Regions from separate parts of the Homo sapiens genome. Here all the other regions are linked to region 3. Evidence: promoter capture Hi-C in human tissues and cell types (Jung and others, 2019). All regions are on one chromosome and are shown on one strand. Each heading gives the region's core, a stretch centred on a gene start or on the middle of the fragment in contact. The rest is flanking DNA. Distances are from core to core; before and after follow the strand shown. Region 1 has its middle 83 kb from the start of LINC02753. Region 2 overlaps PPFIA1 (PPFI scaffold protein A1). Region 3 holds the start of FADD (Fas associated via death domain). Region 4 has its middle 66 kb from the start of LINC02753. Region 5 has its middle 28 kb from the start of LINC02753.

The links. Contacts are between HindIII fragments. The study calls those that stand out against the background at their distance.
Region 1: a fragment that was not itself captured here is called in contact with the fragment with the promoter of FADD in region 3 in 1 of the 25 tissues and cell types used here (H1 embryonic stem cells).
Region 2: a contact is called between a fragment that was not itself captured here and the fragment with the promoter of FADD in region 3, in 1 of the 25 tissues and cell types used here (H1 embryonic stem cells).
Region 4: a contact is called between a fragment that was not itself captured here and the fragment with the promoter of FADD in region 3, in 2 of the 25 tissues and cell types used here (lymphoblastoid cells and mesendoderm cells).
Region 5: a fragment that was not itself captured here is called in contact with the fragment with the promoter of FADD in region 3 in 4 of the 25 tissues and cell types used here (heart left ventricle, liver, mesenchymal stem cells and 1 more).

Annotation. Positions count from the first base shown.
Region 1 is chr11:69,981,210-69,983,909 of GRCh38, reverse strand. It overlaps a transcript of ANO1 not described here. Among named protein-coding and RNA genes, the nearest start is that of LINC02753, 83 kb to the left of the region's middle. RefSeq lists enhancers at 1,295-2,017, 2,018-2,700. The HindIII fragment of the contact is 4,687 bases long and covers 1-2,700 here.
Region 2 is chr11:70,330,792-70,333,491 of GRCh38, reverse strand. PPFIA1 (PPFI scaffold protein A1) reads right to left here. Exons shown (of 28, transcript NM_003626.5): 9 at 1,398-1,532; 10 at 1-22. Among named protein-coding and RNA genes, the nearest start is that of MIR548K, 48 kb to the right of the region's middle. The HindIII fragment of the contact is 3,804 bases long and covers 1-2,700 here.
Region 3 is chr11:70,201,934-70,204,633 of GRCh38, reverse strand. It overlaps FADD (Fas associated via death domain), which reads right to left and starts at 1,338. Exons shown (of 2, transcript NM_003824.4): 1 at 889-1,338. The coding sequence starts at 1,174. RefSeq lists silencers at 608-799, 849-928. The HindIII fragment of the contact is 27,989 bases long and covers 1-2,700 here.
Region 4 is chr11:69,997,975-70,000,674 of GRCh38, reverse strand. It overlaps a transcript of ANO1 not described here. Among named protein-coding and RNA genes, the nearest start is that of LINC02753, 66 kb to the left of the region's middle. The HindIII fragment of the contact is 5,000 bases long and covers 1-2,700 here.
Region 5 is chr11:70,036,094-70,038,793 of GRCh38, reverse strand. It overlaps a transcript of ANO1 not described here. Among named protein-coding and RNA genes, the nearest start is that of LINC02753, 28 kb to the left of the region's middle. The HindIII fragment of the contact is 7,069 bases long and covers 1-2,700 here.

The DNA of each region.
Region 1 (2,700 bases), core at 1-2,500, 220 kb after region 3:
GATTATTAGCAGAAATATGTTAAACAGCCATTAATAGATGTTGATTCATTCCGATTGAAGCCGCTTTTTCTTCTTTTCATTTTCTTGGCTCCAATTAAGTTGCGTTCGGATGAAACCCTTCAGCTGTGGCCAACATATGCAAAAATGCCAGTCGAAGACCCAGACGTTTAAAAGTGATATTTTAGTAAATACCTGAACCAGCTCATTTTTAAAAAGATTGCTCTCGGCTGCTATTTTGGTAAGTGGCATCACGTGATAGTGATGCCAGGCTGGGGAAGGCTGGGCTGCCCATGTGGCCCGCAGGAGAGGGTGGCCTGGAAGAGGAGCACCCGGAGCACCCTGCTTATTTTCTGGGGAACCCCACGCTGCAGACCCTCTGAAGCTGAGGGCCTCCCCGACACCCTGGGCATGGCAGGAAGATATTTATGTCAACAGCAGAGTGGGGCCAGTGCACTGGCTCGGGGAGGTGGCGTGCCTGTCATTACAACACACAGCCGTCATTACGGAATACAGTAATCACACAGCACAATGCTTGTAATTACAGAAAAATGGTTTCCCTTTTTGGCGAGGCGGCGAGGGAGGGAGAGAAGGCAGCTCTTGGTGAGGCCAGCACTGGTACTCATCCCCTGAATTGGGCGGGGTTTAAAATAGGTTTCGTAGGGTGAGGCCTTGGGCCTGGCTTGGGGGTAGGCACAGACCTACCCCAAGCCGGAGCATGATCAGATGCTGGGGACTTGCAGGGACTCTGATCTTGCTGTGGTTTCATCAAGGCCACCAGCACCATCATGCAGGTCTCCTCTGCTCCCCAATGCTGCTGGGTCTCAGCAGATGTCAGCTCAGAGCTGACTCGGCCCACAGGCGCACCACCTGCAATCACGCCTCCCTCTGTGCATTTCTCCTTTCCTCATTGACCTTCTCTGGACCCTCAGATGACTCAGGACAGGATAGATTGTCACGTACACCCTGCCCCCACTGTCACTCATCATCAGAACACATACAAGGCCACAGGTCATTTAAATGCTGATTTCGCATGATCTCAGGAAGTCTGTTTTCAGTTCGGCTTGGCTCTTTGAATGCCTGCCATGGGTAGAGCCCTTTCTCAGGTTGGAAGGGGAATGGGAGGCGCAAAGGGAGCAAAACAAAGCCCCAGCCCTCCAGGTCCAGCCTCCAGCCTGGAGGAGTGAGCAAGCTGGTGCAGAAGCCGGGCCTATGGCCTCTGCAGCCTAACAGAGTCAGTCCCGTCTGGAACAAGCTTCTTCTCAGCACCCGGGTTTGTGCATCTGTAAAATGGGTCTTGGCAACAGGTTGGAATTCTGTAGGGATAGGACAAGAATTCAGCTTCCAGCCCAAAACCTGACATGCTGTAGGGATTAGAGGGCATTATTATTTGCATCATATTCATCCTAGTCAGACAGGGAAACATGGTAGAACACTGAAATGCAGGTGGAGGCTGCTCCCAGAAGAGCCGATTGGAGCTCTTGGTGGCCCCTGCCCTGGGGCAACCGGAGAGTGGGTGGGTTTTTCAAGGTGGACGGTGACTTTTAGGGGGTTCTGGCAGAGGCTGGGTGGAAGCACCAAGGTGGAGAAGTGGGCACCCAGACAGGGATGGGAGCAGCCCAGTGTAGCAGGTTCAGGTGGGGCATCTGGCGAGTAACGGGGGCCCCTGGTGGCTATACTCAACAGGGTTAAGGGGGTCTTATTGTAATTAAACAATTCACTGGGGTGACATTCACATAAGATAAAATTGATCATTTTTAAGTGTTCAACTCGGTGGCATTTAGTGCATTCACAGTGTTGAGCACCCACATTTCTATCCAGAATATTCCCATTCCCGCAGAGTACAGCTCGAACCCGCTAGCAGTCACTCCCCATCTCCCCCCTCCCCCAGTCCCTGGCAACCATTGGCCTGCCTTCTGTCTCTATGGATTTATCCATTCTGGACATTTCATATAAATGGAATCATACATTACATGGTCTTTCGTGTCTGGCTTCTTTCATTATGTTTGGAGTTTGCTCCACATTATAGCATGTATCAGAATCGCATTTCTTTTTATGGCTGAATAATATTCCATGGTCTGGGTGTACTACAATTTGTTTATCCATTTCTTCTTGGATAGCCATTTGGACTGTTTCCAAAGGGTCTTTGGAAGGGACTAGAGAGAGCCCACAAAGGCGCCTGCAGGGGCTGGGGTGGGGCTGGGCAGAGAGCTCAGTGGCTGCGCAGGGCTAGCGGGAGAGGAGGGCTGGAGGCAGCTGCTGTCAGCCCAGCCTCCGAGGCAGCTGCTCACCACTGATACCAGGGGCTCCCAGCAGCAAAGCGCTGTTGCTGGAGTGACAGTCCTCCGCTCTGATACAGAGGACCTGCAGCTGAAGCAGGCTAAACTTGCAGAGGGGCCCTTGGACAGAAGAGGCAAGATCTCTGCCTGGGCTTCTCCTTAGGCAAGTCTGTTTATTTAACAAACACTTAGAGAGCACTTATTGTGTGCCAGGCCCCGTTCCAAGCGCTTAATAAATATCGGCTCATCGAATCCGTGCAGCAAGTCTACGTAGTACGTGCTCCTATCATTCCTACTTTACAGATAAGGAATCAGAGGCTCAGAGAGGTGAAGTGACTTGCCCAAGGTCACACAGCAGTAAGTGGGAGAGTGGGGCTTGCACATAAGCAGCCCAGCTCCAGAGTTTGTGCTCTGCTACCGTAAG
Region 2 (2,700 bases), core at 1-2,500, 130 kb before region 3:
TGTTGCCGTGTCTCTCTTCAGCCTGTCAGCAGAAACAGCGTACGCTGACGTCATCCTTACACTTCATTAACGACATGCTGCATACCACTGCAGTGGCAACAGGCACAACATGCTCTGCGTGGGCTGCTCCGCCATACTAAATGGAAAGCATGTACTCATCCATCAACACAGCCTACGGGGCTTCACGTGCTGGGCCATGAGGTGGCTAGCCCTCTTGTGTTGGTGATTCTGAAGCATGGCTGCTGCTGGCGACTGACTGGGTGTTTTCCCCCCAACCCCTATGCCCAATCTCAATGGAGTCGTGATTCTCCCATCCTTGGACTGCTTCTGGTTAGTAAGCATGGAAAGCAGAAAGCAGCGGCAAGCACAAGCAAGGAGCAGTGCACCCATTCTACCTTCCTAAGCTTGGAAGTAAGTTCCAACAGTTTAGCTTCCTTAGCAGCAGAGCTCCCAGAAGACAAAAGGTCAGACTACAAAGCCGACAAGGGACAGGAAAGATAACAGGGGAGAAAAGAAATCGAGACTTTAAAAGCAGATCATGGAGTGGGAGGATAGGTTCTTACAGCTGTTAGCAACAAACTTGCTAGAAGGAACAGGTGTGTGAGCCCTAAAACCATCTGAATGGTCCAGAAGGATGCCCTCCCCAGCAGCTTGAAAAGCTTGAGCAAGAAGACTCAGGACGACAGACAGGGGCCTCAGCTCCTGCTGCTCGCCTGCCTGGCACTGCAGTGCTGGGCTCCCCACGCCCCAGAGGCTGGGTTTGTGCCCGGTGATGCGCTCCCTGGGTACTCGCCGATCCCAGGACCTATGACAGCATTTGCCTCTTTAGCTGCTTCCCTCATGAATGGGGAGAACTTGGAGGGACTGTGTCTTGCACATGCCTAGTCAACAGTTGTTGGACAAATGAATAAATATTACTTAAAAACACATTTTTAAGTAATTTCAAAATAATAAATATTACTTAAAAATACATTTTTAAGTAATTTCAAAATAATAAAATTACTTAAAAATGTGTTTATGAAGAATTTATCTTGATGGTGTTTTTAAAAGAACGGCATCTTCCTATTTCTGAGAAAAACTACCCTTCTTTTACAGAGACTTCTATCCTATGCTTAAGCTGGTGACCAAAACAATTCTAAGAAGCAGTAACTCTCAGATCACACATGCCGTGGACAAATAGTATACAGCTCACAAAACCAAGGTAGACTTCGGGATAAAAGGATCATGTCTGGCATTTACAAAGTGTTCCAATCTCAGATGAAAGAGCACTCAAACCAAATCCGTGCTCTTCCACGGATTTAGGTGCTGATGTAATAAGAACAGTGACAAACAAGGTACACAGGCAAGGCACAGTCACAGGCCTGGCAGCCGAACCAGAATGAAGCTCATGGCACTACCTTGGAAAGCGCTGCCACCCTCTGGGCCAGCTCCGCCTCCACCTCCGGGAGCGTCTCTGCCTTCCTCAGTGTCTGTTGCAGCTTTTGCTCTGCCAATTCCAAGCGCTCCTGTAACTGGCGGTTTTTATCTTCAGTCTATAAAATGAGAGCAAAGCATCAAAATGCAACAAATCTTCTAGCTGATCAGTTTTTAACAGATTGAAACAAACTGAAATGCAGATACAGACTAAGAGAGTCATGATGGAAGAGCTACAGTGATGGGAGTTGCTTCTGGGTCAGGTTTTTGTTTTTGTTTTTGTTTTTGTTTTTGTTTTTGAGACATAGTCTCGCTTTGTCACCCAGGCTGGAGTGCAGTGGCACAATCTTGGCTCACTGCAACCTCCACCTCCTGAGTTCAAGCAATTCTCCTGCCTCAGCCTCCTGAGTAGCTGCAATTACAGGCATGTGCCACCAGGTCTGGCTAATTTTTGTATTTTTAGTAGAGACAGGACTTCGGCATGTTGGCCAGGCTGGTCTTGAACTCCTAACCTCAAGTGATCCACCCGCCTCAGCCTCCCAAAGTGGTGGGATTACAGGTGTGCGCCACTGTGCCCGGCCTGGGTAAGGTTTTCTTGCTGCCAGGAGTACATGCCCACTTTCCTGGTCTTGGTTTCAATGTGCAAAACACCTCTTGTCAAAGTGTTTGCTTTTCCTAAATAACTTTTAAGAAGCTTTTTTTTTGTTTGTTTAAAGACAGAGTCTTGCTCTGTCACCCAGGCTGGAATACAGTGATACTCGTAATTACAAGAATAAGTATGGTTTACGAAACCACAGGAGACCCAATTTCTTACTACAGACTTCACTGCCTTTTTTTTTTTTTTGAGACGGAGTCTAGCTGTGTCACCCAGGCTGGAGTGCAGTGGCACAATCTCGGCTCACTGCAACCTCCGCCTCTTGGGTTCAAGCGATTCTCCTGCCTCAGCCTCCTGAGTAGCAGCTGGGATTACAGATGCGCGCCACCAAGCCCAGCTAATTTTTGTATTTTTAGTAGAGACGCAGTTTCACCATGTTGGTCAGGCTGGTCTCAAATGCCTGACCTCATGATCCACCTGCCTCGGCCTCCCAAAGTGCTGGGATTACAGGTGTGAGCCACCGCGCCTGGCCGCATTTTTTATTTTAGAGACGGGGTCTCGTTCTGTGGCCCAGGCTGGAGTCCAGTGGCACAATCATAGCACAATGAAGCCTTGAACTCCAGGGCTCAAGTCATCCTCCCTCCTTAGCCTCCTGAGTAGCTAGGGCTAAAGGCACATGCCACCATGCCCGG
Region 3 (2,700 bases), core at 89-2,588:
GTGAAACCCATGGTGACACATTTAGGCCCTATCTGATTGGTGACTGAATGGCTGATTCCAAGCTACAGCTTGAAGCCTCTGAGAGGCGTCCCCAGAGCACTCCCAAGCCTCTCCCGACTCTGAGAACAAGGGGGGTAGGGCTGAGAAACTCTGCTGTACTCAGGGTTTCTTTTTTATCCTGGAAGCTGCTGCAATCCACAGGCGAGGGTGGAGAGGGAGTGACCGAGAGCAGGACAGGAAGCCACTCCACAATGAACTTGACCAGAGAGGCAGTGTAGTGGCTAACACTACCCATCCGGAGGCCGGACTGCTTGGCTCAAGCCTAGCTCCGTCAGTTATCGGCTGCGCATTTCGACAAAGCCACTTAACCTGTGAGCCACAGTCCTGTCCTCTGTAAAATGGGAACAGTGATAGCTAACAGTATCTAAGCCACAGGGCTACTGCGAAAATTGTATTTGGCAGTTACAAGGGTAAGCGGCACACTGTAAGCCCCTGGGTAGGAGTTACTGAATGCTAGTATTACTCTCAGACAGCCGTGAAAAGCATATTCCGAGACAGAAAGGAAATGATGCGAGGCAGGCTCACCCAACCTCTGCCCCTCCCCCACACCTTCTCTGACTCATCTTTTCTTCAGTGAGTTTTCTAATTTACCCGGGCAGAAGTGGGTGGAGGAAAAAGGACTGTGCGTGTCCACGCCCTGCAACCTCGAATAAGTTAACTTTTCTGCGTTTCTGGCTCTCCCATCTGCAAAACCAGGGCTGTACGGAGAAAACCCACGCAAATCAAACCCGGCAAAGGGGAGGCGCCTGGAGGCCAACCGGAGGAGCCTCGCAGCACCTACAGCCGGGCGACCAGGCCCTGGCTCCCCCGGCCCGGCCCCGCGCCCACCTTCTTCCCCAGGCGCGGCCCCGGCCGCCGCCCCCGCCTCGAAGTCGTCGACGCGCCGCAGCAGGTCGTGGCGCCGCAGGGAGGCGAGCAGCTCGCGCAGGAGCTCGGTGTGCCCGGGCTCCAGGTCGTTCTGCTCCAGCAGCATGGAGAAGAGGTCTAGGCCGCTCTGCACGCGCTCCAGCTTGCGCTTGCCCACGCGCCCGAGGCATAGGAACTTGAGCTCGGTCAGCTCGCTGCTCGACAGGCTGGACGACACCGAGTGCAGCAGCACCAGGAACGGGTCCATGGCGGGGTCTGCAAGCGGCCGGGGCTGCGGCCCGGCCCTCCGTGCGCCCTCTGTCCTCGGCTCGCTGGCCCTGGCCAGGTCTCGCCGCTTGCCCAGCGGCCCAAGGATTCCACCCCCGAACCTGCACTCCGGTGCCTGATTCACTACAGGAAATCGACAAGAGCGCGTTTTCGACCGTTATCTCGCGAAAACTAAGGGACCCGCGCATGCGTCCCTAGCGAAGCCGCAGCCGTTTCCGCCCTGGCTGGCGGCGCCGCGGACGGGCGCGGCTTCTGCGCCTGCGCCCGGCGTATCGTCTCTTTTCCGGGTGGGAGGTGGGGCCTTGGGTGTCCTGAGAGCCTGCAGGTGGCCCAGCTCTCTGCGGTGAGGGCGGTCGCGCCTCTGCCGAGTCCACCTGTTTGCAAAGCGCGGTGCGGCCCTACTGTGTGCAGGGCCGGGGCGGGGAGGGCGCAGCCCGAACGTCACGTGCCCTCACATCTGTTGGTGACCAAGGTTACTTATGCATTAACGTTTAGGGACAAACGTGGAAAATGCATTCTTTGGTGCCCCTGGAGACATCTTGTGTGTGCAGAAAACACTACTCAGAAGTTTATGTGCGTTTAAACATGTGATTTAAATAATACATGATTTCCAAAGTAGCAGTCGTTTATTCAATCAACAGTATTGAGCGCCTACTGTGCCAGGTAGTAGGGTCTGGGGACAAATTAGTGAGCGAAGCGCGAGGGTCCCCGCGTGCCCGGAGTTTACATCATAATTACAAAAGCGACACGCTCCAGAAGAGAAGGTCGTGGCGGCCGTGGTGGCTCAGCCTGCAATGCCCGCACTTTGGGAGGCTGAGGCAGGATTGATTGAGACAAGGGGTTCGAGACCAGCCTGGGTAACATAGTGAGACCCCGTCTCTATTAAAAAATAAAAATAAGGAAAAATAAGGAAATCGTATAGTATGCCAGAAATTCAGAAGAGCCAGGGGAAAGGGAGTCTCTTCACGGGGTGGGCGTGTGGAGGGTGGGGGGCCCGGTGGTCTGATGGGGCCTCTGTAAAGGCGCAGGTGAAGGCTGGGAGGGGCCGGGTACCTAGGTGTGGGGGGAAGAGCTGGGCACACGGAGAACAGAAGAGCAGAGCACAGGGGACGGCTGGGGTTCCAGGAGCAGCAATGCCGTGGGTCTGGAGGTGAGGAGGGGGTGCAGATTAGGAGAGCCCTCACCAGCCAACAAGGACCCAGCTTTACCACAGGGTGGGGCAGGGGCTGATGCCAGCTGAGTTTGTTTTCTTGAGATATAATTCACATACCATTCAATTCACCCTTTTAAAGTTATACTTCAGTGGTTTTTAGTGTAGTCACAAGGTTGTGCAACCCTTACTGCTGTCTAACTTTAGGACATTTTCATCACCCCAAGAAGAAACCCATTAGCATGTACTCCTCCCCTCCCCCACCAACCACGAATCTACTTTTTTTTTCTTTCTTTCTTTTTTTTTTTTTTTTTGCTGTTTTGAGACAGAGTCTCGCTCTATGGCCAGGCTGGAGT
Region 4 (2,700 bases), core at 25-2,524, 200 kb after region 3:
ATTTCTGTTGAGTAACTGCTCAGGGGTGGCTTTGCTGGGCCACAGACTATGTGTTTGTTCAATAGTAAATCTGCCTATCAGTCTTCCAGAGTATCAGTCTCCACACCCATGAGCAGTAGGCAAGGGTTCCAGTTGCTCCATGTTCTTGCCAAAGCTCGGTATCTCATGCGCTTTGAAATTTCAGCCCCTCAGGTGGGTGTATGATGGTAATCTCAGGGTGGTTTTGCTTTGCATTTCCTGATGACTAATGAACTTGAGTGCCTTTTCTTATGCTTATCAGGCCTTTTCCTTTAAAATGCTTTTTAGTGACCTGACATGACTTTTAGATTGGTGGGGAGTGTGCATCCCCCCCCGGCCCATCTCTATCTTTCACTAACAAGCTTTCCCTTATAAAGCAGATGTCACATTCCATTTTCTTCCTCTGTGAGTGCCTCAAACACACAAATGAAACATCTAGCTAATTACAGGCAAAAAGAAAACCTCTCCGTTCATTTTTTTTCCCAAGGGCTCATTTTGGGTAGCTATGTCCCCACTTTATTATCTCCATCCAAAAAGTGACCTCACTTGGTTGCAGTTACAAAGGTTTTCTTATGGGAATTCCCCTGGGAGTCCTCTGTAAGTTCCTTCCTGAGACTTTATCTTGGCAGCAGCGAGCATTTGGTTACACCTGGCTCAGAAACTTTCACAATAAAGCAGTATGGGCCGTGCTCTGAATAGAACTCTTTGGGGCCTCCCTTCCCTTTTTCCCAGTGCTAGGGAAACCCCTAGTACTCTCATCAGACACTCCCCAGGGTGGCCATGTGATAGCCCTCCCTCCTGCCTCCAATGCCTCCACATTCACAAAAGGATAGGAACCCCAGCCTGTTTGATCCTCAGTAAGGCACGTGGGTCCCTGGCCAATTTGCAGCAGAAAGAAAAGCTGCAGTACAAATGCCTCATTCATTCAGCAAATGTTTATTGAGCACTTAGTAAGTGACAGTCCCTGTGCTAGGCATTGATTCAGAGATGAGCCCAAGAGACATGGCCCTTTTCCCCTGGCGTTTATGTTAGCGGGTGAGGAGGGCCAGATGGTGCGTAAAGCCAACACATTAGAATCCTGTTATGTTCTCAGATGCTGCTGGTGAGCACGGAACCTAGCAAAGCACTCTGGCAAATTGTTTGGGAGTTTCTTAAATCATTAAAGGCGCTTTCATCCTATGTCATAACACAGTGATATAGTTTGGACATTGTCCCCGCCCAAATCTCATATCGAAATGTCGTCCCCACTGTTGGAGGTGGGACCTGGTGGGAGGTGATAGGATCATGGGGACAGTTTCTCAAGCGTGGTTAATAGTGTGTCCTTGGTACTGTCCTCATGAGAGTAAGTGAGTTCTCATGAGATTCAGTTATTTAAAAGTGTGTGGCACCTCCATGCTGTCTCTCTTGCTCCTGCTCTGGCCATATGATATGCCTGCTTCCCCTTCGCCTTCCTCCATGATTGTAAGCTTCCTGAGTCCTACCCAGAAGCTGAGCAGATGCCGCCATGCTTCCTGTACAGCCTGCAGAACCGTGAGCCAATTCAACCTCTTTTCTTTGTAAATTGCCCAGACTCAGGTCTCTCTTTCTTTCTTTCTTTTTAAAAAATCTCTTTTTTTTTTTTTTTTGAGACAGTCTCACTCTGTCACCCAGGCTGGAGTGCAGTAGTACAATCTTGGCTCACCAGGCTCAGGTATTCCTTTTATTCTTTCAAACAGAGTTTTGCTCTTGTTGCCCAGGCTGCAGTGCAATGGTGCTATCTCGGCTCACTGCAACCTCCACCTCCTGGGTTCAAGCGAGTCTCCTGCCTCAGTCTTCCAAGTAGCTGGGATTACAGGCACCTGACACCACGCCCAGCCAATTTTTGTATTTTTAGTAGAGATGGGGTTTTGCCATGTTGGTCAGGATGGTCTCGAACTCCTGACCTCAGGTGAACCACCTGCCTCAGCCACCCAAGTGCTGAGATTGCAGGTGTGAGCCACTGCGCCTGGCCAGGTATTTCTTTTTGGCAATGGGAGAATGGCCTAATACACCCAATGATTCCAGTTGAATATATTTATCAGAGATATAAAAACACACATCCATAAAAATATTTCTTCCTTGCAGCTTTATTAATAATGGCTTCGAACTGGAAACAGCCCCAGGATCTTCCTAGAAGAATGGATACCCCATGAGGACGCCCACACAATGGGGCACTGGGGGACATACTACTCATGAACACCAAAACATTTCCCCTGAACCGAGGACGCTGGACACAGGAGAATCTGCACTCATGCTTTTATTTATAGGAAGAGCTAGAATAGGCAGAATTATGCCATGGGGCAATGGGGCGGGGGGATTGGTGGGGAAGGGGCAAGAGGCCACGTTCTGGGGTGATGGAGCTATTTTATATCTTAATGGGGTGTAGATGTTTAGATTTGTGTTACAATTGATCCAATTGTTCACTTAAGATCTGGACATTTTACTGTATGTAAATTACAGCTCAGTCTAAAACACCTAGTTACAAAGTCCTATACAGGAGAGAAACCCGTGTGAGGAGTGTGCTGAATGCATGCTCACAGCTGGATGGAGTGGTCCAGGAGGGTCTCTGTCCAGGTGACTTTTAAGCCAAGAGAATGAGGAGGAGGCGTGGAGAAAGATGCTCTGGGAAGGATGTATTAGGCCATTCTCGCACTGCTATAAAGA
Region 5 (2,700 bases), core at 169-2,668, 170 kb after region 3:
AGGTTTTTCCTACCTTGGCTCATGCACGAGGTCTTCTGGTCCTGCGGTTTTGAAAGTCTCTCCTTCTCCCCTGCATTGCTGAGAATCCAAATGTGTTTCTTGCACCAGGTAAGTCCTGGCTCTCTCCCTGGGGGCCACTGCAATAGGGTGGCAGGGCACCTCCCCACAAGAGAGGACCAAGGACTGTCCCAGAGGGGAAACAGAGTCCCTGTATGGCCCACCAAATTGTTGGAAATGGGTGCTCGGTGTCGCAAAATCAACACTGAGACAAAGGATCTCTCAGCAAGGCTAGTTTACTTTCTGCAGAAAGGGTGCTGCTCACTAGCAGTCTTGCCGTGAGAGCACACCCGAACAAAGGAGATGGGGATGTTTATAATCTTTGTAACCTGATGCAATTGTCCTATGGCTGTGTCACATTTCCATTGGTCGGAATGGGACCTCACATTCTAAGCTTGACCCGATTGGCTAACAGCTTGAAACTTTTCTAAATAGGCAAAGGGGAAAGAGAACAAAGAAAAGAGGAAGCTAGTCATGAGAGGGTCAGGAGGGTTTCCAAATAAGGAATGGCATGCACTATGGTCTGGGTCTTGCTTAACCTTGTCCAAGAATGCCAGGTCAAGTCAGAGCAGCTGCATTGGAACATATATAGATATGCATAGAGCAAAGAAATGACAAGCTCTTTATGGTTTTAAGAAACTTTGAAGAAGAACTTCTCCATTCCTCACACAAACCTCCTGCCTCAGCCTCCCAAAGTGCTGGAATTACAGGCATGAGCCACTGCGACTGGCCACGACAGTCACGTTTTAATCCTCATGCTCACTCACCTTTTCTTTGCAGCAGGAGTAGCAGTTCACTGCTTTCTCCTTGGGTTGTAATTCAAGACCCTGCCATGGAATAAGATGAGTGACCATAGACAAGTTTCTTACCTGCCTCAGTTTCCCCAGCTGCAAATGGCAGTAATTGTGCTCATCCCAGGGGTTGATGTGAGAGTCAAATGACTATGTGGTAAACTACTTGCCCAGAGCCCAGCGCCTAGTGAGTACTCAACAAGCAGAAAAAACCGGGTTTCCTGGCAGCTGTTCCATGAGGTGCTTCGGGTATAGAGTTTCAAGTCTTCAAGCAACCTTTTCAGAAGTCAAAGCTGAGGCTCAGGGAGCGCCTCTCCCAGGGACCCCTCAGCTGTCATGCAGTAGAGGCAGGTTTGCATCCATGCTGGCTTGCCCTTGAAGGTTGTGTTTTCCCACTAGGCCACCTGGGTCCTTCCTTGGCGTCTGTGACCCACCTTCATGCTTGGGCCTCCCTCTGCCCCGCGATGGTCTCCTGCCTTTCCTTTCTCTGCTTGCTTTCTGCGTGTGGTGTCCTCAGAAGGTGAGCTTGGTCCTCCATAGCCCCATTTGTAATCATATCTTGCTCATTTGTTCCAACCACCCCTATACATTAACTATTCCCAAATCCCAATTCTTCTCTTTCTCCACAGTTCCCAACAGCTCCTGAGACCAATTCCAAACCCCCACCTGCCCTGCTCCACTGAGTATTGCCCAGGTCCCTGTCACACCTGTCCTTCCCTGCCTGCAAATCTCAATCAGGAGGAGCAAAACAGGCTGGGCCGCCTAAGCTGGATTTCTCAGGGTGGAGTTCCGAGAGGCACTTCCACCTGGGTGTACCTCTTGAAGGCAGGGACTTCTGTGTTAGGGAAGATGGATGGCACTAAAGGCCGACAGATGAGAGAGGAAGGAACCCTACAAGTCATTCATTTGTTCGTTGCACACATGTTTATTGAGTGACAGTCAGGCACAGCTGCTGCCTGAGATGTTGAGCACACAGACATGCCTGAGACATGGCCCCAGCCTCGGGAGAGAAAGGCAGGCATGTAAAAAACCACATACAGGCTAGGCACGGTGGCTCACGCCTGTAATCCCAACACTTTGGGAGGCTGAGGCGGGCAGATCACGAGGTCAGGAGATTGAGACCATCCTGGCTAACACGGTGAAACCCCATCTCTACTAAAAATACAAAAAATTAGCCGGGTGTGGTGGCGGGTGCCTATAGTCCCAGCTACTTGGGAGGCTGAGGCAGGAGAATGGCATGAACCCGGGAGGTGGAGCTTGCAGTGAGCCGAGATCGTGCTACTGCACTCCAGCCTGGGCGACAAAGCGAGACTCTGTCTTAAAAAAACAAAACAAAACAAAACAAAAACACAAACAAACCACACACAGTCAGACATCAGGGCCAGCATAGAAGAGAGAGGGTCCTCAGCCCTTTTTGTCTTTATTGTCAAGGAGGAAGAGTCACCGAGCAGGCCTTCCTTACCAGTGGGCTGAGCAGTACCCCAGAAAACTGAGCCTATGCCCTAACCTCAGAACCTGTGACCGTGAACTTATTTGAAATGAGGGTTTTATAGAGTAATTAGGAATTTCAAGATGAGATCACCCTGGATTATCCAAGTGACCCCCAAATCCAGGGACAACTGTAAAGGACACACAGAGGAGAGACACAGGTAGAAGAGGAAAAGGCCAGGTAAAGACAGCGGCAGAGATTGGGGTGATGTGCCTTAGCCAAGGGACACCTGGAGTCACCAGGGACTGTACGGGGCAAGGAAGGATTCTACTCCAGATCCTTCCAAGGGAGTGTGGCCTGATTGGCACCTTGATTTTGGACTTCTGGCCTCCTAATGGTGAGGGAATAAATTTCTGTTGCTGA